Regions from separate parts of the Homo sapiens genome. Here all the other regions are linked to region 2. The links are contacts of gene promoters, found by promoter capture Hi-C in blood cells and fetal thymus (Javierre and others, 2016). All regions are on one chromosome and are shown on one strand. Each heading gives the region's core, a stretch centred on a gene start or on the middle of the fragment in contact. The rest is flanking DNA. Distances are from core to core; before and after follow the strand shown. Region 1 holds the start of PGM2 (phosphoglucomutase 2). Region 2 holds the start of PGCKA1 (PDCD10 and GCKIII kinases associated 1). Region 3 has its middle 47 kb from the start of PGM2.

Evidence for each region. The method cuts DNA at HindIII sites, captures the fragments that hold promoters and counts their contacts. A CHiCAGO score of 5 or more calls a contact.
Region 1: the fragment with the promoter of PGM2 here is called in contact with the fragment with the promoter of PGCKA1 in region 2 in 1 of 17 cell types (endothelial precursors); the score reaches 5.6 in endothelial precursors.
Region 3: a fragment that was not itself captured here is called in contact with the fragment with the promoter of PGCKA1 in region 2 in 3 of 17 cell types (naive CD4 T cells, naive B cells and endothelial precursors); the score reaches 7.3 in naive CD4 T cells.

What each region holds. Positions count from the first base shown.
Region 1 is chr4:37,824,123-37,828,686 of GRCh38, forward strand. It overlaps PGM2 (phosphoglucomutase 2), which reads left to right and starts at 2,564. Exons shown (of 14, transcript NM_018290.4): 1 at 2,564-2,691. The coding sequence starts at 2,611. RefSeq lists enhancers at 1,033-1,202, 2,235-2,736, 2,737-3,236 and a silencer at 2,447-2,746. The HindIII fragment of the contact is 6,567 bases long and covers 1-4,564 here.
Region 2 is chr4:37,452,245-37,456,844 of GRCh38, forward strand. PGCKA1 (PDCD10 and GCKIII kinases associated 1) reads left to right here and starts at 1,681. Exons shown (of 4, transcript NM_001104629.2): 1 at 1,681-1,796. It overlaps LOC124900691 (a long non-coding RNA gene), which reads right to left. Exons shown (of 3, transcript XR_007058098.1): 1 at 4,392-4,600; 2 at 3,236-3,346; 3 at 2,073-2,850. The HindIII fragment of the contact is 3,173 bases long and covers 1-2,079 here.
Region 3 is chr4:37,777,094-37,781,371 of GRCh38, forward strand. No RefSeq gene overlaps it. Among named protein-coding and RNA genes, the nearest start is that of PGM2, 47 kb to the right of the region's middle. The HindIII fragment of the contact is 673 bases long and covers 2,174-2,846 here.

The sequences.
Region 1 (4,564 bases), core at 1,314-3,813, 370 kb after region 2:
TTAAAATTGAAGAACACACTAGCCGGGCGCGGTGGCTCATCCCTGTAATCCCAACACTTTGGGAGGCTGAAGTGGGCAGATCACTTGAGGTCAGGAGTTCATGACCAGCCTGGCCAACATGGCGAAATCCGTTCTCTACTAAAAATACAAAAAAAAAAAAAAAAAGTCTGGGCCTGGTGGCTCACACATATAATCCCAGCTACTCAGGAGGCTGAGGCAGGATAATCACTTGAACCCAGGAGATGGAGGTTGCAGTGAGCTGAGATCCCACCATTGCACTCCAGCCTGGGTGACAGAGCAAGACTGTGTCTCAAATAAATAAATAAATAAATAAGCCGGGCATGGTGGCACGCCCCTGTAATCCCAGCTACTCAGGAGGCTGAGGCATGAGAATCTCTTGAACCCAGGAGGCAGAGGTTACAGTGAGCCGAGATCACACCACTGCACTCCAGCCTGGGTGACAGAGCGACACTGTGTCTCAAAAAATAATAATAAAATAAAGTTGAAGAACATACGGAAAATGCACAACTCATAAGATTGCAGCTTAGTGAATATTACAAAGTCAACACACCTGTTGACCATCGTCCAGGTCAAGAAACAGAACAGTCCCGGAACCCCAGAAGGCACTTTCCCTCCTTCCCAAAGCTACCACTCTGCTGACATCCATAGGTTAGTTTTGCCTCCTTTTTAGTTTTTAATCTTAAAACTTAAAAAAAAGAGATATAACTTACATACAGTGAATTTTACCCTTTATATCGTACAGTTCTATAAGTTTTGATAAAAGTAAACCCCAAACTCAATCAAGATACGGAACAGTTCCACAACTCCCTCAAATTCCCTTGTGCCCTAGGTAGTCAACCCCTCCCCCAACCCCCAGCTCTTGAAAATCACTGATTTGTTTCCTTTACCTATAATTTTATATATTTCAGTGTTTTTTTTTTTTTTTTTTTCAGGGTCTCCCTCTGTCTCCCAGGCTGGAGAACAGTGGCACAATCAGGGCTCACTGCAGCCTCGACCTCCCAGGCTCAAGCGATCCTCCCTCCTCAGGACTCCCTCCAGCTCCCCCACCACGAAATAGCTGGGACTACAGATGAATGATGCAGTATTTTGGGGTGACGGGGTATGGGGGTGGGTGTTTGAACTCTGTCACTCAGTGTTTGTGAGATTCATTCATGATGTTGTGTATAACAGTAGTTCACCTGCATTGCTCTATCAATGTGCCATGATTTATTTATATGAATTGGTATGGATATACTACCAAGTATTTATCCATTGTATTGTCGATGGTCATCTGGGTTGTTTCCAGTTTGAGGCTTTTACAAATAATGCTGCTAGAAATATTCTTGCCCGTGCTTTTTTATGCTTATGGGTATGCATCTTCTTTATGGCTTGGTGATACCAGCGTCAGGAAGATGTGCTCCTATGTTAGTTTCCCTAAGTTTCACGCTACTATGGAAAGAGACCACCATTTCTGCTGTCCTTCCCAGCTTCTCCCCCACCTCCCCTTTTCCCTAGTTTATAAGACAGGAGAAAAGAGAGAAAGCAAAAAGTTGGAAAAAAACAGAAGTAAGATAAATAGCTAGACGACCTTGGCGCCACCACCTGGCCCTGGTGGTTAAAATAATAATAATAATATTAACCCCTGACCAAAACTACTGGCGTTATCCGTAAATTCCAGACATCGTATGAGAAAGCACTGTAAAACTTCTTGTTCTGTTAGCTGATGTATGTAGCCCCCAGTCACGTTCCTCACGCTTACTTGATCTATCATGACCCTTTCACGTAGACAGACCCCTTAGCGTTGTAAGCCCTTAAAATGGCTAGGAATTTCTTTTTCAGGGAGCTCGGCTCTTAAGACGCGAGTCTGCCGACGCTCCCGGCCGAATAAAAACCTCTTCCTTCTTTAATCCGGTGTCTGAGGAGTTTTGTCTGCGGCTCCTCCTGCTACACTACCTTTCGCACTTAGAGATACAATTGATCTGGAGTTCAGAGCTGTGTGTGATGGGAGGTAGGGGGCCAAGTTCCCTTTTTTCTTTTCCCTACGTGGATATCCCTTTGACCGAGCACCATTAACCAAAAATAGTTCCTTCCTGTGCTCTGCAGCCCCGCCTCTGAAATAAATTGTCCATACACGTGTATTTTTGTTTCTGGTCTCTATCTTATGTTCCACTGGTCTTCCTACTTTGCTTTTCTTTTTCAAGATTTTTTTCTGGCTGTTCTTGACCCTCTGAGTTTCTACATAGTCTTCAGGCCCCTATCTGGGTGCACTTCCTGGTATCCCAGCATCTGACATGTGCCTGGCGCGCAGCAGGAACTCACGGCTGGCTGTAGCCTGGATGCATCAGAGACGATGGCAAACCCTTCTCACACGTGCCAGGTTCCAGCAACCCACCCTAGCCCCGCAATTCCTCCTCGCTCACTCCCACCCCCTGCAGCGCACCCGCAAACGGCAAGGAGGCGTGCCCGCCGCGGCGCGCGTCACTTTCCCCCGGACCGACTGGCTCCGCCGCGGCTCTCCCCGCCCCCGCCTCCGCCTCCACGTCTTGGGGCCGGGCCGGAAGGCAGATCTCACCGCCTGCTTCCCTCTGCAGCGGTAGCACAAGCTCAGCGATGGCGGCTCCAGAAGGCAGCGGTCTAGGCGAGGACGCCCGGCTGGACCAGGAGACCGCCCAGTGGCTGCGCTGGGACAAGGTGAGGGGCACCAGCAGGCGGGGAGCGCCTGGAGCGGGGCCGGGTGCTCTGCCCTCTCCAGGCGCGGCGCTGCTTGCTCTGCCTGAGCTGCCTTCCCGCCCAGTGCATCCCGCTTCTCCCCCGGGAAGACCCAGGAGCGTACGGCCGCTGCTAGGCTTCCTTCGACCTGGCCGGCATGCGGCACGTTCAGAGTTAGGCCGGGAAGGCTTGTCCCCGGACGAAACCAGCCATCCGGCCGGCCGGACTGCAAGTTCGGAGTAGAGGAGCGAGCCAGGGTGGTGTAAGCGCGGCCAGACCCTGGACGCTGTCTAGTTGAGGGGCGCACGCCTTACTGTCACTCAGACCGCTGGCTCGTCGTCGGTAGTCGGCTGTGCATCCCCATGGACCCAGAATCGCTCCGTCCCGCGTATTCCTTTGGCCGCTGAGACCTTTGCAGAGCAGCGTTCTGGTCCGGTCCTCCCATCCCGAGGGCTTGGTTACAAACGTGGGTTGTCCTCCCGGGTGGGCCCGCCTGGCTTCAGGAGTCCCCCTTAGAACTTTGACTGCCAGGGAGGCACACCTGGGACACAGCACGGTTTTCTCTCTCTTCATTCCGTTTCTTAGAATCAGGAACCCAGCTCTGGACATCACTCCCTCTCCTCTCTATAAACTTGCGTCTCGCCCTTTCGACCTGTTCTGCTTGCTGTTAGGTTTTCTCGGAATGTCCCTCGCTGCTCTCCTGCTGAACTTGTTTCTCCCGTTGTGACTCATATTTTGTGCCTGAACTTAAATGTGGCTTACGTAGAGAGTCAGTCCTTCCTTGGCTCCGAAGCGTTAAATTATTTATCCCTAATATTCACTCTAAACAGTCTGTTATTTTCCTTTATAGCTCTTACTACAAATGGTAAAAACAAAAAACTCCAAAAACACTTGTTTGTAGGTTTGTTTAATGTCTGTCTCCAGGGCCGACTTCAGGGGCGAGAGACCCCTGCAGTCTCACAGGACTCGCGCTCCTTGAAGGGCCCACTGTTGTTTTAATGTCCTGCTGTCCTGTCTTGAAAGTCTTACTGGTAAAACAAGAGGTCACCCACTTTCATTGTGCACTGGACCTCCATAAATTATGTGGCCAGGCCTCTCTATTCTCACTACCTTGGTTTGTAGTGCCTGGCATAGGCATAGTGCATGACACATAGTAGGTCACTGAAATACTTGAATGAACAAAGAAGATTACAAGGTCAGTAGGGGTCAGGTCTTTGTCTTTATTTACCATTCTCTGGCCCCTACAAATAAAATGTCAGCAAATCCCATTTCCAGGATGCTATTGGCAACTCCTTGGGGGCGTTTTTCTTTTCCTGGGAAGATAACCTTGTGATTCACAAGGGAAGAAAAATGTTTCCATTTCTGATAACTTGTAGCTTGCAGAGTACAGAATTCTTTTGAAGTCAGAGTTCATAATGCACTTTCTCTAAGAAGAAGAAGAAAACAATCTAATTTCTACACAGTGTTGCATCTGTGTATAGAAAAATTGTATTTCTCTGGGTAGAGATGAGATGTCCTTTTTTTTTTTTAATCACTTCTCATGTTCTATCCTCTGTTAATTTCTTCTTTGCTTTGAGACTGGCACCTGAGAAGAAGCCCATTCATTCTCCAGTGAACCTCCCACCAGCTAAAAGCATTGCAGCCCTCTAGTCAGACTACCCCCGGCGACTGGCAAGGCGCCCTGGCAGGTGCCCTCTGTCTTTCCACCGTGCCTTCATCCCTGCTCTTTTCTCTGCTGTCAGTTTTGCTCACTGCCAGGGCTGATTCTGATCCTGCTGTACTCTTGACTTGTCATTCTTACCTGTCTGTCTCCTTTGTTTCTCTCAGGCTACTTAGTCTTTCATAGATATCAAAG
Region 2 (4,600 bases), core at 431-2,930:
TGAATCAATACGTCTGGGGTGGGTCCCAAGAATTTGCATTTTTACTACATTCTCTCAGATTATGCCGATGCTATTAGTCTAGGAACTGCACTTTAAAATCTAAGGCAGGCTGGGGCGCGCGGTGGCTCAGCTTGCAATCCCAGCACTTTGGGAGGCCGAGGCGAGCGGATTGCTTAACCTCAGGAGTTCAAGACCAGCCTGGGCAAGTTTAGGAGAGCCCACCCCCACCCTAGTCTCCACAAAAATAATAATAATAATAGTAATAATAATAATAATAATACAAAAATTAGCCGAGCATGGTAGCATGAGCCTGTAGCCCCAGGCACTCCAGAGGCTGAGGTGGGAGGATCCCTTGATCCCCAGAGGAGGAGGTTGCAGTAAGCTGAGATCGCATCACACTCCAGCCTGTGTGCAACAGCCAGACCCTGTCTCAAATAATAATAAATAAATAAATAAAATGAAACCCAATACAAATACCAACCCCTTTTTCGACAGATAACCTACTTGATAAATGTATCAATATCCTGTAGACAATTAAGTGTCGACTATAAGTTGGACATGAGTGCCGTTCATTGTGACAAAGGATGTAAAACCACATATAACTTCCTGCAAAAATCTAACACTTTACAGCGTGCAATCCCAGCACTGCAAAATTAGAAGGATTCAAAAAATGGAGTGTTCAAATTCTCAAAAGCCTGGCAAATATCATGTGAATGGGGCTGGCATCATTAAAGTAGATACATTGAAAACCCAAGGACACTATGTCCATCCTTAGATAATACTCTGTCCAGATGCCTCTCCAATATCCTATTTTATTCTCTTGCTGGATGAGTTGAAAAGAAGAGAGAAGAGGGTAAGCTAGGTGGCGCAGTTGCTTAACACTTTTTTTGGCAAGCTCAGCATTTGCTTTGGAGCACAGGTGAAAAGAATGTCCAGTCCTTAAGCAGAGTCAGTTCTCCACCCGCCTTAGGTATATGGATTGTAACAGCTACGAATGTGGAACTCAGTAGATTGGATGCAGTCTTGTGGCCAATGCCCTAAGACCTCAGGAAAAGAAAGGGATGGAGGGGGAGTGGGTGAGGAGGGGACGGGGAACCAGGAGTTCATTGAACTCCCCCTGGGGCCTTTAGGGTGCAGGCGAGTGTGTGCAACTTCCCTGGTTTTTATCGTGGTGGTGGCGCCCCCGCTGTTTCTAGGTCCATGTAGCTCATACAGGGCTGGCCATGGAACTCACAGCAGGTCTAGGCGGCGAATGCCAGAAATAAGGAGGAAACTGAAAAATGCCAAGTTCTCGGGGTTTGGGAGTACACAACTATTTGCCAGCGGGTGCATTTGTTTTGTGTATCCCCGTACTCCAGTCCCTTGATCATAGGAAGCTCCCTTCTCTCCAGCGCAACATTGGAGTAAGCACCCCGGAGTTTCCCGTGATGGCAGGCGGTTGGCGCGGTCGTTTGTGCTCAGAGGCCAACAAGCGCGTGGATTTTCTGCTTCAGTGCGCCCGGGACTGCCACCCCGGCCCCGGGGATGTCGGACATCGTACTCCAGGGTTTCGAGCCCTAGCCCCGCCGCATCCTCGGGGCGTGCAGGTAAAGGGTTACGCGTGTCGGGAAGGCTCACCCGCAGCCCGGGCCACGTGACGCGCGGGCCCAATGACAGCGCTGGGGCGGCCGCTGCGAGCTCGGCGGGCTCAGGGCAGCGCGGAGCCGCTAGCGTCTCCCGGCGCGGCTGCCCGAGGCCGGCGAAGCCATGGGCGCCGGGACCCCGCCGCCGCCGCCGCCGCCGCCGTCTGGCCCCAGGTAGGGACAATCCCCCGCCCCGCGCGCGCAAAGAGGGCTTTAGTCCTGCGGAACTTGGCTTTGGGGCGAGCTTTCCCCCACTTCTCTCCGAGTCGCCTACTTTTAAGTTTAATTTCTTGATTTGCTTTTGCCCTGAAAAAAAAAATTAGAGACGCAATTCAAAGTTTGATGACTTCGGGAAAAGTCACGTAATTCAACAAAGGGGCTCTAAAAGGGGCAAAACTCGGGTGGGGGGAGGCGGACTTTTACAGATTCCCAAAACCAAAGACCAAGGCGTTTGTAAAGCTTGGCGTTTAATTGGTTGTGTGAAACATTTTTGCTTTTAAATCCCTAACTAATGAACTTTCAACGGTGCATGCGAACTTGAAAAAACTGCAAGAGATTTTACCTTAGATCTGTGCCCTCCTCCCCCATTTTAAGTATGTTTTTTAATAAAAAGGAAATGGAATGTGACCTCTGCTGTTTCTTTGAAATGCCCTTGGGTCCCGGTATTTGCCCCCCAGGGGTGCTGGCGGCCTGGGCAGTGGGTAGGGGTGGGGGAAGAGGTCAGGGTGCCAGGAGGCCTCACGTAGTGAAAAGAGGGTGCCAGGTGCAAACAGTTAAATAGTCACAAACTGTTTGCTAAATATTTAATAATTAGGCAAGCATCTCCCAGCTTGGTTACTTAGGTTGCATTGACCTTGGCAGCCCTGATGAGGCGAGATTTTCACAAAGTACTGGTGAAGAATTTTTCCGGTGATAAAAGGCAAGGATCAATGCTTTTTACCCCAGCATGGCAATTGACCTTAAAAACAAAATTAAAACTCCCTGTGATGACTTAGTACATTTTATGTTACTTTCCATGGCAGCATAGATACCTGCCCCATGATGGATATTTGCCCTGTGAATTTAGAGAAAGTTTGTGCTCCAGAGGTGGTTCAAATCATTGAAGAATAGGGCGTTTATTTTCTTCCTGTCACTATTTATGGGAAAGAATTACGGATGGTCCTTCTTGCCCTGGTTTGTGGATGTCCTTGGTGGTTGCAATCAAGCAAGCTCTTATGAGGAATAATATCTGGAGAAAAGAAGAGAAGCATTTGAGAGTTGAATGAGAAAGAAATGGAAAGCGGTTACTGCTTTTAAACATAATAGAGTCTATATTTGTTGCCTACCCCTCCCCCTTCCCCATTTAATCCTTCAGTTGATACTATTTTAGGAAGGATAAGACAGATGTTAAAGATCATAGACCACCTTACTGGTCCCAGCTGTGAAACACTGTCAGGAGGCAGATAATTGAAACAAGGTACATAATTGAAACAATTTGAAGCTCAAAGGTAAAGTTAAGTTCTGGAGTTATTTGTATTTCCCTAAAGTGTGAAGAGTCAGCTAACAGCAAGCTGCCTGGGTCACTGAGCAGAAATGGAACAGATGCTGAGACAGGAAGGGAAGGTGTGGCTTACTTCTCTTCTTGGCCCATTCTGTGTCTATCCTCTGATCCTGCTCCGTGCATTTATTCAGCAAGTATGATCTTGGTCCTCAATGGCTCCGGAGATTTAGATAAATAATGATACCTAAAGAGAAATAGGGCCAATCTTTCCTGTGTTTCAAAGAGCTTTTTGGATATCTGGGATTGAAGACAAAACCTTGCATACCAACTCAACACGTTCCATTATCCTAAACATGGAATGATTCCCTTGACGTCCCACCCAGACCCTCTCTGAGCCGGAAATACAACCTGGCTAAGCTCCGGCCAGAATCCATTTGCAGCCCAAGGGCAGAGCACAGGTAGGGCCGGCCCCTTTCCTCCTAGAACAGCCCGCTCTTGGTGCCCGGAAGCCCATTCACGGTGCTTCTTGGAATAGACGCCAGTTTCCAAATAATTGAATACCAGCCTTCCAGTAGCTAGGTTTCCTCTCCCTAGACTGTGTTTCACATTCCCCTAGTTACACAATTTTTCTGGTAACCCTGAATCTTGGGATCTTTTACAGTCTTGGTTAAATAGTAACTAGTACCTATGTCCTGCTTTTCTTTCTTGGTCATTAGGCAGATTTTCTTTTTGGTCATTCTTTTTGGTCATTAGATTACATGCTTACAGAGAGACTTTGTAGGTGTGTAGAAAAGAGTTGAGTTAAAGGGGTCATCCTAGGGGAAGCCGACTTGGAGTCTTCACCTATGTGCAGGTCAGATGTAGTCTTTCTCGAGTGCCTGCTCTTAACCATTGAGCCATCCTGTGTCTCCAGTTGTAGCCTTTCTTACTCTGACTGCTATTTAAGAGAATAAACTGAAAATGAAATCGCTCATCTACTTGTACCCTTTTCACCCGAGAATATCATAGTCCCACAGAGGTTAGTTAAAATCTTCAGGACTGTAGATTATCAAATAATCCTTTCCTAAAACATACGTAAAACACCAAGCCAATGAATACGTGTCCTGAAACAGAAAATTAAAACTCTGACTCAGTGTTGTCAGGCATTGTAGAAAAGATGTTCCAGAGCTGCAATGAATATTAACAAATGACAAAAGGAATATTGTATCTCACTCAAACTTTATCAGAAGTGCTGAACTCTGTTCTGTTCAGTGTACAAGTGGTTCTACAAAATTTAATAAAACCCTGACCTGGCCTTGGAGACATCATGTGCGTAGACCCAGAGACACCAGAGAGTCGATGAGTTTCTGGGGACACAGTCCTTGTCTTCAGAGATCCCAATATCTTGGGAGAAACCATTGAAGGATCTTAAGCACAGCAGATCTCTATTTTAGAGAGTTCATGCAGGCTGCAATGAGAATGAAACAGGAAAGATACAACCAAGACCAAAGGCAGCTGC
Region 3 (4,278 bases), core at 1,260-3,759, 330 kb after region 2:
TTGGCAGCTCCACTGTCCCCTGTAGCTTCTTCTTCTTGTTCTTCTACTTCTTCTTCTTCATTTTTTTTTTTTTTTTTTTTTTGAGAGGGAGTCTCATGCTATCACCTACACTGGAGCTCACTGCAGCCTCCACCTCTTGAGTCCAAGTAGTTCTAGTGCCTCAGCCTCCTGAATAGCTGGGTCTAAAGGTGTGCACCACCACACCCGGCTAATTTTTGTATTCTTAATAGAGACAGGGTTGCACCATGTTGGCTAGGCTGATCTCAAACTCCTGACCTCAAGTGATCCATCTGCCTCAACTTCCCAAAGTGCTAGGATTACAGGCGTGAGCCACCACATCCACTCCCCACCCTCCCCGTAGCTCTTCCAAGGGTTTTCACACCAGCATGGCTACCTAGCAATAAAGTCTCACCATTAGGATTCTGTGGTTTGCAGCACAGATACCATTCCTTCCACACAGTATTCTAAAACATGCAGAACCATTTAACATGGAATCTTTTGAAATCCCAAAGCCACAGTGATCTTTTAAATTCACAAATCTGATCACATCACTTACCTGCTTAAAATTACCCAATGACCACCATTGTCTACACTGTGAAGTTCAATCAATGCCCTGACAATCTAGACCCTGCGTCCCTGTCTAGCTTCATCTCTGGCCCCTCTCCATACACAGGCTCTCGAATCTACTTGTTGTGAACACATGTTGTTATTTCCTACCTGAATGTCTCAGCTGCTCTGGCCTTCTCCTTCTTTGAACTAACATCTATTTGTCCTTGAGAACTTTACTTCAACTGCCATCTCTTTTTGCGTTCATTATTTGTTCCAATTATTTGACCCTTATACGAGTATCACTCCTTTCCAAATTATTCAGTTTCTGAGATTGAATGGTGAAGGTTTAGTAGTGAGTTTGGGTAGCAAGGGATACTTATATTATTTAAATATATTTGGTTCCCAGTTTCAAAGAGCAAGTATTAAGTGTATGGATAGTGAGGGCCCTAAGCAGTATGTTAATATAAATAAATACACACACACACACACACACACACACACACACACATCTAATCAGTTCCTGATATTGGATAGCAAGGCTACCTGATTATAGTTTTATTTCACAACTTACTTTTCATGTACATACATGATGTACAAAGGCAGCATAGTCTGTAGGGTTAATGGTATAGGGTCTTCAGCATGACTGCCCAGGTTGAAACCCCAGCTCTACTGTTTACCAGCCTACCTCTCTTCCTCATTTTCCATAGTTGTAAAATGGAAAAATAATAGGGCCAATCCCATTAAATTGAGAGGATTAAATGAGTTAATACATATAAAGTATTTACAATTGAACATGGCTCATGGAAAACACTCCATAAGTATTAGCTGTTAGCAGTAGTCATAGTAATTGTTTTGTTATTTATGCCTTGGTTTGTTCCAAAAAGAATGTAAGGTAGTGTGTGTAAATGTGTGTGTGTGCGTGTGTGTGTGTGTGTGCATTTTACTCCTCAATTAGCTTGCATGCTTCCTAGGGGCAGCAGCTGTGGCCTGTAATTTCTTTGTGTATTTTTAAAATGGCTAGCACAGTGCCAAGTATATGGTGAGTGCACAATAAGTATTAATTCCTCCTCCCCTTTTCTCCTTAAAATACACACCATGTTAGTCTCTGTTTTCTCCCACTACGCTGAGCACCATGCTTGGCTCAATGGTATATGTGTGTTGCTCGGTTGGACTGTTGTTGATTGCCACAGCTTGTTGAGCCCTACAGAAGTGCCTCAGCCTTGGACGGATATTCACTGACCCATTCAACAATCTTGTCCACCATTTTGTCTGCAGATTGAGTGTGCAGTGTTAATGAGCTTTGACAAGACAGAAGAGAACACGTTCACAATAACAATTGAAAATAACCCTTTTGATATGGCTGGGATATTTGTTCACTCCAAATCTCATGTTGAAATGTGATTCCCCAGTGTTGGTGATGGGGCCTAGTGGGAGGTGCTGGGCCATGGGGATGGATCCTTCATGAATGGCTTGGTGCTTTCCTCAAGGTAATGAGTGGTAGTAAGTTCAGCTGAGATCTTGTTGTATAAAAGAGTGTGGCATCTCCCCACTCTCTCTCTCTCTCTCGCACCCTCTCTCTTCATGTGACACACTTGCTTTCCCTTCACCTTCTTCCATGAGTAAAAGCTTCCTGAGGCCTCCCCTGAAGCAAAGCAGATGCTGATGCCATGCTTCTACAGCCTGCAGAGCCATGAGACAAATAAACTTCTTTTTTAAAAACAAATTACCCAGTCTCTGGTATTCCTTTATAGAAACACAAAATGGACTAACACACTCTCTATTCTTAATGGGGAGAAAAGCTAGAATTGCAGTGAAATGAAATGTTTGTGAAGAAAATCATGACTGACTTCCATTTAAAAATGTTTTTTACATTTAAAAATATGTGAAGTTCAGCTGGGCACGGTGGCTCATGCCTGTAATCCTAGCACTTTGGGAGGCCAAGGCAGGTGTATTACCTGAGGTCAAGAGTTCAAGTCCAGCCTGACCAACATGGCGACACCCCCTCTCTATTAAAAATACAAAAATTAGCCAGGCATGATGGCGTGCGACTGTAATCTCAGCTACTCAAGAGGCTGAGGCAGGAGAATTTCTTGAACCCAGGAAGCAGAGGCTGCAGTGAGCCAAGATCATGCCACTGCACTCCAGCCTGTGTGACAGAACAAGGCTCTGTCTCAAAAAACTAAAAAATAAAAAAAAATGTGAAATTCAATGTGCCTGATGATGCTGCCAGAAAAGAGAAAGCTAGCCTGAGTAGACCTTCATTCAGTTCTACCCTTTCTTAAAGTATGTCCTGTGGAAGCTTAATGCTGAATTAAAGTCTCCTAGAAACCTTATTAGGGGATTTGGGTCAGGGACAATAGTTGTTCTTCATGACCTTCTTTTGTAACCTCCTAAAGAATGCTGTCTATCATCTCACTAGGTTCACAAGGCTTGTTTTGTCCTTTGTAGTATCTCCCATGGCCCATCCAAGGGAAAAGGAAGTTCTTGCTCAAAGAAAGTTTGTGCACTATGCAAATGCAGTGATATCATTTTTCATCAGGCTGAACTAAACAGCACACAACAAAACCAAGAACCTACACCACTGCTTGTGCACTTACATGCTAACATAAACTGTACAGATTTATAGTCCCTGATGTGTACAACATCCCTTATGTATTAGTCTGTTCTCATGCTGCTAATAAAGATATACCTGAGACTGGGTAATTTATAAAGGAAAGAGGTTTAATGGACTCACGTTCCTTAGGGCTGGGGAGGCCTCAGGAAACTTACAGTCATGGCAGAAGGAGAAGCAAACACGTCCTTCTTCACATGGCGGCAGCCAGGAGAAATACAGAGTAAAGGGGGGAAAAACCCCTTGTAAAACCATCAGATCTTGTGAGAACTCACTTACTATCATGTGAACAGCATGAAGATAACCACCCCCATGGTTCAATTACCACCCACTGAGTCCATCCCACAACACAGGGGGATTATGGGATCTACAGTTCAAGATGAGATTTCGGTGGGGACACAGCCAAACCATATTACCTTACATATGTGAATTATCTTGTTTGCTTCTGAACAGAACAGTGGTAACTACAATTGCTCTACATTTTACATTTAGGTGGATCTTAAGGTGACAAGATTTTACTCCTTTTCACAATTTTTGTGATGGGACAATAAGCAGGAGAGGAGAAAAAGGCAAAGGAGCATGTAAAAATAAATGACCTGTTTTTTACTATGTCCCCTTTCTCAGTAGAATATGAAAACTTCCTGTGTGGGTCCTTTTATGGCTGCTTCTAGATTTTCAAAGCTGTCCCAGCTGAGACGCAGGCAAAGAGAAGAAAGAGGCTGGGCTGAAAACCACTGCAATTTCCTGGGGAGAGAGTGCCCCCGGATGGGCCATTGATCTTCATTGTTCCTGCTAGACAAATAGACTTCTCAACATCAAATAAAACTTTACTTGATGAAGATTTGTTTGGAAGGATGCTTTGTTTATATTTCTTTACCCTTTTAGATATTACCTACAATTTCTGAGCACATGTGCCAAGATAAAAGAACTTAACAAGCAAAGAAAAAGGGCGTTTTTTTCTATAGGGAGAGGTTCTGAAAAATCCAAGAACATAAGACGGGTTTGTATACTGGCTGAACAACATGGGGTGGCTAAACTGGTTGTGTTTCTAAATTCTTTCAAACAGGCAGAGTTACTAATTTGTCTTATCAGATGCTCAGCATGATAAATCTAAACCA